Linked DNA regions of Homo sapiens: region 1 is linked to region 2. The links are contacts of gene promoters, found by promoter capture Hi-C in human tissues and cell types (Jung and others, 2019). All regions are on one chromosome and are shown on one strand. Each heading gives the region's core, a stretch centred on a gene start or on the middle of the fragment in contact. The rest is flanking DNA. Distances are from core to core; before and after follow the strand shown. Region 1 overlaps RALY (RALY heterogeneous nuclear ribonucleoprotein). Region 2 holds the start of PXMP4 (peroxisomal membrane protein 4).

Region 1 (5,000 bases), core at 357-2,856, 280 kb after region 2:
TGTGAAGAATCCATCAGTCATTTGTCAGTGGTAATAGGTAAGTGGCAGAATTTTCCTTAAGAGGGGAGATCGATCTCTTTGTAGGGAGCAGGGAGAGTGATCTCAGCTGGTCTCTGGGATTGGGAAAAAGTGTGATGAAAGCATCTGGACAGGGGCAATGATGGAGCAAAAGACTGGAGGTGAACTGTTCAGCGGGAACAGTGAGTAAGTGTTCTCTAACCTCATACTGTAAGTCCTAGGTTAGGCATATGTTTACCTTTGGTAAATATGCCAAACAGTTTTTTTTTTTTTTTTTTTTTTTGAGACGGAGTCTCGCTCTGTCGCCCAGGCTGGAGTGCAGTGGCGGGATCTCGGCTCACTGCAAGCTCCGCCTCCCGGGTTCACGCCATTCTCCTGCCTCAGCCTCCCAAGTAGCTGGGACTACAGGCGCCCGCCACTACGCCTGGCTAATTTTTTGTATTTTTAGTAGAGACAGGGTTTCACCGTTTTAGCCGGGATGGTCTCGATCTCCTGACCTCGTGATCCGCCCGCCTCCGCCTCCCAAAGTGCTGGGATTACAGGCGTGAGCCACCGTGCCCGGCCTCCAAACAGTTTTAAAAGGTCTACCAGGTTACATGGTTAGTGATGAGAAAATTGCTGTTGTTCTGTGTTGTTGTAAATACTTGGCATTGTCTATCTTTTTCATTTGAAGCCATTCTGGTTAGTAGTTATAGATATGAATTTTAAGAACCATACTATGAATTCTCACATAGCAAGTACCATAAAGGGGTACAATGATTGGGAAGTTCAGAAGGGGAAGAGATTGCTTCCTTTGTACATGGAGGAGGGGCAGAGGGGGAGTTCCCAAGGAACATTTGTGGACCAGTGAGTATTTGTGCTGGACTTTGTAGGATAAGGATAATGACCATCTGTTGTCCAGGACCATTTTAATTTCTAATATTCTGTCTGGTTGTACTTACAGATTATGAAATACCAATCAATATTGCCATGTCTGTACCTTATCTCCCATACTATGCAGAAGCAACACCCAGTTATCTTTTCTCAACCGATGTGCTTCCCTTCCCCCCTTTTCCAGAAAGAATGGTCACAGGTGATTAGGCTGCAGAGATGGAGAACATTCTGTGCAATGGGAACAACTTGAGTAGAGGCACAGATGAATGACTAGACCGAGTAGTATCCATATTCCTGCTAATGAGCAGGTGGTGGAAGTGTCCCACACTTTGGAGATGGGTGATACCTTCTCATAGCCTCTCAGAGCAGAACAAGGTCATGTCGTTATGAAGCCAATTTGTATTTAAACTGGATAAAAGGATGAGAATGAGCTCTTTGCTTATACTTACATCATTTCAAGAAAGAAATTAATCCAGTAAACAGTCATACCTGAAGTATATCAAAAGAGAGTTTTTCTTCTTAAAATGGTTGGGGAGGGAATACTAAAACCTAAAGAACTTAGTCTCTCAGAGCTCATCTATTAGTTGTATATTTGCTCAGGGAAAAATTGCCATTTCTTTGTCAGCTTTTATCCTGCCGGTGGACCCTAGCTGGGTGTTTATTTTGTGTAGTTTTACCAAATCACTTTGAAGGTTGGCATGAACATTGATCATGTCTTAGAGCCTTTCCTCTTTGTTCTGTCAGCAAATATTAGAAAATGTACCTTAAATTACCTGGTTGGGGAAAATAGGGTGGCCCTGCCTCCTTCCAGAGAGCAGCATTTTCATGTTAAACATTAGTCAGCTTCTGATCCTGTGTCAGGTCGCGGGGTGTTTGTCAAGATAGACAGGGTGCTAGAGATGCCACTAGGGACATTCACTAGAGAATTTCTAGGCCCCCTCTCGAGGAGACTAGTCGAGTAGTTGATTTAAAAATCTGATGGGCTGGGTGCAGTGGCTCATGGCCTGTAATCCTGACACTTTGGGAGGCTGAGGCAGGCAGATCATGAGGTCAGGAGATCGAGACCATCCTGACGGAGTAGTGAAACCCCGTCTCTACTAAAAATAGCAAAATTAGCTGGGCGTGGTGGCGCGTGCCTGTAATCCCAGCTACTGGGGAGGCTGAAGCAGGAGAATCACTTGAACCAGGGAGTTGGAGGTTGTAATGAGCCAAGATCGTGCCACTGCGCTCCAGCCTGGTGACAGAGTGAGACTCTTTCTCAAAAAAAAAAAAAATCTGACCTGGGTTTTAAATGTTAACACAGCCTTGCATATTAGTGATATTGAGTGTCCACTGTGTTGAGATATCATACTTGGTACCTTTTGTTTATACTAATAGAGCTAATATTTACTGAAGGTTACTATGTGCGAAGCCTTTTATACATATAAAATATTATTTCATTCTCACCTCAACCCTAAGAAGTAGGTTGTATTGATCGTGATCATACAGATTGGAAACTGAGACAAAGGGAGGTTAAGAGATATGCCGTGGGCAACCACTGGTCTTTTTATAGTCTTCACAGATACGTCTTTGCAGAACGTCATACAGTTGGAATCATACAGTATGTAGCCTTTTCAGATTTGCCTCTTTCACTTAGTAATATCCATTTAAGTTTCTTCCATGTCTTTTTATGTTTTGATAGCTCATTTCTGTTTAATGCTGAATAATATTTCATTGTCTGGATGTGCCACAGTTTATCCACCTATTGAAGGTGTCATTGGTTGCTTCCAAATTTTGTCAATTATGAATAAAGATGCTATAAACAAACAAAAGAAAGATATGCCGTGGTCACGCTGCTGATATGATAGATGGAGTTGGCTAGGATTGAAACCTAACCAATTCCTCTTTATTTTTAATATGGAAAATTTCAAACATACACAAAATCGAATAGGTTAATGAAATATGATTTACCCATCACTTGGCTTCAACAGTTAGCAATTCATTGTCAGTCTTGTTTCATTTATACCCCTACCTACTTTTCTTCATTTTGTGCTTTGAAGAAAATCTCAGCTATCATATTTTGTCCTTAAATATTTCACAGTGTGTCTCTAAAAGATGACTTCTAAAAACAATTATAATGCCATTACCATCTTTATAAAGTGTAACAGTTCCTCAGTAAAATCAAAATCCAGATGATCGTGTTCAAATGTTCGATTGTTTTGTAAATGTCACAACCTTATTTTGATAGTTTGATTCAGGATTCATATAAAGTCCACACATGGTTCTTAAGTCTTCAAGTCTCGTTTAATTTGTATGGTCCCTCCTACAGTCACATGCTGCATAGAGATGTTTCAGCCAGTGATGGGCCACAGATATGACAGTGGTCTAATATGATTGTAATACCATTTTTTTTTTACTGTACCCATTGTATATTTAGGTGCACAAATCCTTATCATTATGTTACAGTTGCCTACAGTATTCAACACAGTAACATGCTGTATAGGTTTGTAGCCTAGGAGCAACTATACAGCCTATGCTATATAGTCTAGGTGTGTAGTAGGCTATACCACCCAGGACTGTGTAAGTGCACACTGGTGTTTGCACAGGGATGAAATCGCCTAATGATGCATTTCTCAGAATGTATCCCCGTTGCTAAGTGATGCATGAGTGTAGTTATCCCCCCCATTATTTGTTGAAGAAGCTGGATGTTTTTTTCTATAGATTTTTCCATGTTCTGGATTTTGCTCATTGCATTCCTATGGTGTGTTTTCTGTGTCTCTTTGTCCTCTGTATTTTCTGTAAGTTGTTGGTTAAGGACAATTTCTCTTAACCCTCATGACAACCCTGCAAAAATAGGTATTGTTCTTATTTTGTAGGTAAGAAAACAGACTGAGAGAGGTCGGGTGGCTTGTCCAAGGCCCCGCCTGGATTTGAACACAGGCCTACTTGTCTGCAAAGCTTTTGTTCCTTCATCACTAAACCACTCTGTGAGCTTAGGCAAATCATTTTAAGTTCTCTGGGTCAGCCGGGCACACCTGTAATCCCAGCACTTTGGGAGGCCAAGGCAGGCGGATCACGAGGTCAAGAGATCAAGACCATCCTGGCCAACATGGTGAAAGTCCGTCTCTACTAAAAATACAAAAAATTAGCTGGGCATGGTGGCGGGCGCCTGTAGTCCCAGCTACTCAGGAGGCTGAGGCAGGAGAATCGCTTGAACCTGGGAGGCAGAGGTTGCAGTGAGCCAAGATCATGCCACTGCACTCCAGCCTTGGTGACGGAGCGAGACTCCATCTCAAAAAAAACAAAACAAAAGCCAGGTGCAGTGGCTCACGCCTATAATCCCAGCACTTCGGGAGGCCAAGGAGGGTGGATCACCTGAGGTCAGGAGTTCGAGACCAGCCTGACCAATATGGTGAAACCCCATCTCTACTAAAATACAAAAAATTAGCTGGGCGTGGTGGTGGGCGCCTATAATCTCAGCTACTTGGGAAGCTGAGGCAGGAGAATCACTTGAACCCAGGTGGCAGAGGTTGCAGTGAGCCAAGATCGCACCATTGCACTCCAGCCTGGGCAATAAGAGCGAAACTCCGTCTCAAAAAAAAAAAAAAAAAAAAAGTTCCCTGGGCCTTAGCTTCTTTGTGACCATTTGAGTGCCTACCATGTTATGGTGTGGTACTAGATGGTGTGGATAATACCCATATGAGTAAGACTGTCTTCAAGGAGCATATAGTCAATCAGGGACTGCAAGACCATATGCTATTTCAGACAAGGTCATTGTGGGACTATGGGATCCTTAATCTCCCTTAAGAGTTTCCTGCCTCCCTGTCATCCTGTCTTGCTGTTTTCTGTGCCATGCTATTCACTGTTGCCTGGTACCTTTTCCTACAAACCATTTTTGTTGTATTCTCCCTGCTGTAAGTCTAGTATGGAAGTTTTGGTAAATAAAAGTTCTTCCAGCAATAAACTTTTCTTTGGATTGAGTTACTATTTCAAGGGCAGCTACTCTTTTTTTTCTCTTGTGTTTGGCAAAGGTGTTATTGCTTTTATGGAGATGCTGAAGGAATCTGGGGAACATAGAATAATGATGGAATGAAGCATGGGGAATGCCATCCTGCATCAGGGGAGAACAT
Region 2 (4,874 bases), core at 1,636-4,135:
GGTCAGGAGATTGAGACCATCCCGGCTAAAACGGTGAAACCCCGTCTCTACTAAAAATACAAAAAATTAGCCGGGCGTAGTGGCGGGCGCCTGTAGTCCCAGCTACTTGGGAGGCTGAGGCAGGAGAATGGCGTGAACCCGGGAGGCGGAGCTTGCAGTGAGCCGAGATCGCGCCACTGCACTCCAGCCTGGGCGACAGAGCGAGACTCCGTCTCAAAAAAAAAAAAAAAAAAATTATTAAATATTTTAAATGTTACATAATTGTTACATAATTGCCTCTTTTTAAGATTCAAACCTCTTCCCCCACCCTTCCTTTCCCCTCCTCATTTAGGGATCTAGGAATGACGTGAACAAGACCATGTTTACTTTCATTGTTTTAACTATACTCAGATGAATAGTAGAAAGACAGTGGTATTTGGGCCAAAGCCCTGCCATGTTTTGCTATGTGAGCTTGGATAAATTAGTTAACCTCTCTGAACCTCCCTTTTCCCATCAACAAAAGGTATTCTCCATTTTACAGAATGGCTTTTGGCAGTTACGCACATATAAAAGTTCCTAGGTCAATCAATATTAGTGTCTCTTCTTTTCTTACTCTTCTTTATTGGACACCTCCACCCCTACCCCTATCCCTAAGTTCTCCAGGTACCCAACCCTGGTCTTACCAGGCTACAAGGTCTAAAAATCCTGACAGCCTCCTTGAGACAATGGTCATGAGCCACATACTATTGTCTCCCCAAATATACATGAATGTTCACTGCAGGCTTGTTTGAAAAAACAAAAGACTGGAATCAAACCTGTGTCCAAGGCTGGGTGTGGTGGCTCACGCCTGTAATCCCAGCACAATGGGAGGCCGAGACAGGCCGATCACGAGGTCAGGAGATCGAGCCCATCCTGGCTAACACGGTGAAACCCTGTCTCTACTAAAAATACAAAAAAATTAGCCGGGCGTGGTGGTGGGTGCCTGTAGTCCCAGCTACTCAGGAGGCTGAGGCAGGAGAATGGTGTGAACCTGGGAGACGGAGCTTGCAGTGAGCCGAGATTGCGCCACTGCACTCCAGCCTGGGCAACAGAGCGACACTCCATCTCAAAAAAAAAAAAAAAAAAAAAAAAAAAAAACTTGGCAAAAGGGTTACTGATGTTATCTCAGGGCACATCAAGGATATGCCCTTGGCCAGACCCAGTGGGAACCAGTTCTACCTGACTCTTGAGTGTCCATGGGAGCCAAGAGCCTGGCACTGGTGCCAGGCATCCTTGGGTTTGAATCCCGGCTCCAACCGTGACCAAGTGCTGTGGCCACGAGCAATGGGTCTACCTCTGAGCTACAGCCTTTTCATCTGGAAAATGGGGACAATGGCAATTCTGATCTTGCACACTTATTCATTCATTCAATAAATATTTCAGAAACTACTAAATACCAGGTGCTAGTAATACACCAAGGAACAAAATAGATAAAGTTATGGCCTCATGAAACTTTCTTTTTTTTCCTTTTGAGATGGAGTTTCACTCTGTCACCCAGGCTGGAGTGCAGTGGCACAATCTCAGCTCACTGCAACCTCCACCTCCTGGGTTCAAGCGGTTCTCCTGCCTCAGCCTCCCATGTAGCCGGGACTACAGGCATGTGACACTACACCCGGCTAATTTTTGTATTTTTGGTAGAAACGGGGTTTTGCCATGTTGGCCAGGCTAGTCTCGAACTCCTGACCTCAGATAATCCGCCTGCCTCGGCCTCCCAAAGTGCTAGGATTACAGGTGTGAGCCACCGTGGCCAGCCTGTGCTAAGCATTTCACACATATTGACTCAATCCTGATAGTATAAGTACTAGTACCATGCCCATTTTACAGATATTGAGGCTTAGAGAGGCTAAATGACTTCCTCCAGATCACACGGGTAGGTGGGGCCAGGGTTCAAGCCAAGGCATCCACATCCTTCCCACCATCCCACGTTGCCACTAGGATGCCAATTCTGGGGGACACAAACCACTTTCTCTGGTTTGTTCTCTGCTTTGTCCCCGGTTCTGGCACTGTAGGCCCTCAATAAATGGTGGCTGTTATGCACTAGGTTTAAAGGAGACTGAGCTCCCCTCTAGGCACCAGCCAGGGCAATGACCCCAAGACCTCTCTTGCAGGTAAGATGCCAGGATAGTTGCAGCTTCTTTTACATTCATTGTCACGTCCCAGGAGCCCCCTGAGCCGAACGGGACTTAGCGCTGGAGTCCTACAGGTGAGAAGTGAGAAGCAGGATGCAAGCCCATGGGCAAGCTTCATGGGGACAGAATAGACAGGAGGCATCCGCCTGCCAGCTAGAGGCCAGAGTCCAGTTCCCCATTGTGCAGATGGGGCCGTTGAGGCCCAAAGGCACACAGAGAGGTGAGGTGAACTGAACCCAAATGAGGGGATACAGAAGCTGGCATGGGAGGAGTCAAAGCAAGAGGGCCAGGCTGCAAAGGTTGGAAGACCCAGAAAATGTGCAGTGGGAGCCCCAGTTCAGAGCTGGGAAGGCGCGCAAGCCAAAATCCAGCTCCCATTGCACAGATGGTGACCTCCGAGACTTAGAGACACACGAGGACTGCTCCAGGGCAAACAGCACCGCGGCATCGGACTTCGAACTCGCGCCTCTGACCCCAGGCAGGACATCCCTCAGCCCCAGCCCGGCCCGACGGCCCCACTCACACAGCCCCGTTCCGGAAGCCCTTAAGCACGGCCAACGCAGCGTGGTAGCGGCGCTTGCGCAGCAGTGCGTTGACGACTACGAGCAGAGCCCTTAGCTGCGGCGGGGCTGCCATAGTGCGGGCTGCGCGCAGGGTCGGGGTTAGGAACTGTAAGCGCACTGACAGCCGGAGGTTCCAGCTGCGCGCCCACAGCCCCTCGGTAGCGCCGCCGACTCGTGGCGTCTATAGGCTGTTTCTGCGTCACTCATGCATGGAAGACCAATCAGAGAGCGTACTTGTCTCATGGGACAATAGCACTCATCGAAATAGTTGTCTGACTGGAAGAGAAAGGAAAGCTTGTAGCCAATCACAGTGGGCTCCGCCCAAGGTCACACACGATTTGTCCAATCAGAAGGCACTTTCCCTTGGGCCATGTTGGGTTCACGAGTGGGTTTGGAAGGAGGCGTGTACTTGGAAGGAGGGCTCCTGAATGAGGAGTGGCCCTGCTTAGAGATGGGATGGGCGACAGGTGATGATACAGGGAGGAGCAGGGCCCCATCTTTATGCGAGATAGTTCTGACTGGGATATCCTTTACCATAGCGATCTTCCCAGAGTGTCAGTCACATGGCCCCTCAATGGCTTCCATGTACGTATGTATGTTTTGAGATGCAGCCTCGCTCTGTCACCCAGGCTGGAGTGCAGTGGCGCGATCTCGGCTCACTGCAACCTCCACCCCCCAGGGTTCAAGCAGTTCTCCTGCCTCAGCCTCCTGAGTAGCTGGGACTACAGGCACCCACCACCATGCCTGGCAAATTTTTTTGTATTTTTAGTAGAGACGGGGTTTCACCATGTTGGCCAGGCTGCTCTCCTGACCTCAGGTGATCCACCTGCCTCGGCCTTCCAAAGTGCTGGGATTACAGGCGTGAACCCAGCCGGCGTCCACTTATTCTTAGAATCCAAACTCCTCCCCAAGGCCCAAGAGAGAAGACCTCCTGTGATCTGGTCCGTGCCTCTCCCTCTGACCCCACGTTCCAGCACTTGCCACCTCACTGCTTCCCAGCCAAACAGCCTCCTTTCTGTTCCTTGGGCCAAGAACCCTTCTACCTCAGGGCCTTTGCACTTGCTGGTTCCCTGCTTGATATTCGCCATCCTGGGCTCTTCCCATGATGGGCTTCTTCTCATCCTTCAGGTTTCAGCTCAAATGCCACTTCATCAGAGAGACTTTCTGAGACATCCAATTTGAAGTAGCACTGTCCACTCTGACTCATTACCCTGGCTCTTTTTTTTTTTTTTTTTTTTTTAGACTGAGTCTCGGATCTATCACCCAGGCTGGAGCGCAGTAGTGTGATCTCAGCTCACTTCAACTTCTGCCTCCCAGGTTCAAGGGATTCTTCTGCCTCAGCCTCCTGAGGAGCTAGGACTACAGGTGCATGCCACCACGCCCGGCTAATTTTTGTATTTTTAGTAAAGACGGGGTTTCACCATATTGGCCAGGCTAGTCCAAACTCCCGACCTTGTGATCCGCCCGCCTCGGCCTCCCAAAGTGCTGGAATTACAAATGTGAGCCATCGTGCCCGGCCACCCTGGTTCTTATGTGTTTTTTTTTTTTATAGAACTTTTGACACTTTAGACTTGTTTACTATGTGTTCATTGTCCATTGCCCTTATCAAACTGTAAATTCTATGAAGGAAGAAATCTTATTTGTCTTGTTTTCTGCTGTAACCCCAACACTAGGCACATGGTGGGTACTCAACACTTGCTTGTTTAAGCAACACATAGTTTTGGGTTGTCATCTCTGAGAGCATTGATGGGTGACATTAACATATGATGTCACTATGTGGAGTTGTCACTGAATAACAGCTACACACTGAGTGGTGGCTGTGACTTGTGAGGGTGTCCCCTGGTACTTGGGCCATATGGTATTTACCAGTGATGTTATTTGCTCAGTGTCAGGGGACAATTTCAGAGGTCAATGAAGGAGGGAGTTGTGCTGGGCCTATTTTGTCACTGAAACTGGGTTGTCCGGGATTTTTCTTTTGTGATGGTAGGCTACTTTATTCAGTTCATCCTTCCTCTGAAGATAATGACTATGTTAGATAATATATTAAAATATCCTCTTAAAAACACTGAAGTTCCTTGGCTGGGCACAGTGGCTCATGCCTGTAATCCCAGCACTTTGGGAAGCCGAGGCGGGCGGATCACTTGAAGCCAGGAGTTCGAGACCA

The links. Contacts are between HindIII fragments. The study calls those that stand out against the background at their distance.
Region 1: a fragment that was not itself captured here is called in contact with the fragment with the promoter of PXMP4 in region 2 in 1 of the 25 tissues and cell types used here (H1 embryonic stem cells).

Annotation. Positions count from the first base shown.
Region 1 is chr20:34,003,357-34,008,356 of GRCh38, forward strand. The region is part of intron 1 of RALY (RALY heterogeneous nuclear ribonucleoprotein); the gene reads left to right. Among named protein-coding and RNA genes, the nearest start is that of RALY-AS1, 11 kb to the left of the region's middle. The HindIII fragment of the contact is 6,853 bases long and covers 1-5,000 here.
Region 2 is chr20:33,717,425-33,722,298 of GRCh38, forward strand. It overlaps PXMP4 (peroxisomal membrane protein 4), which reads right to left and starts at 2,886. Exons shown (of 4, transcript NM_007238.5): 1 at 2,671-2,886. The coding sequence starts at 2,783. RefSeq lists an enhancer at 2,433-2,482. The HindIII fragment of the contact is 6,661 bases long and covers 2,632-4,874 here.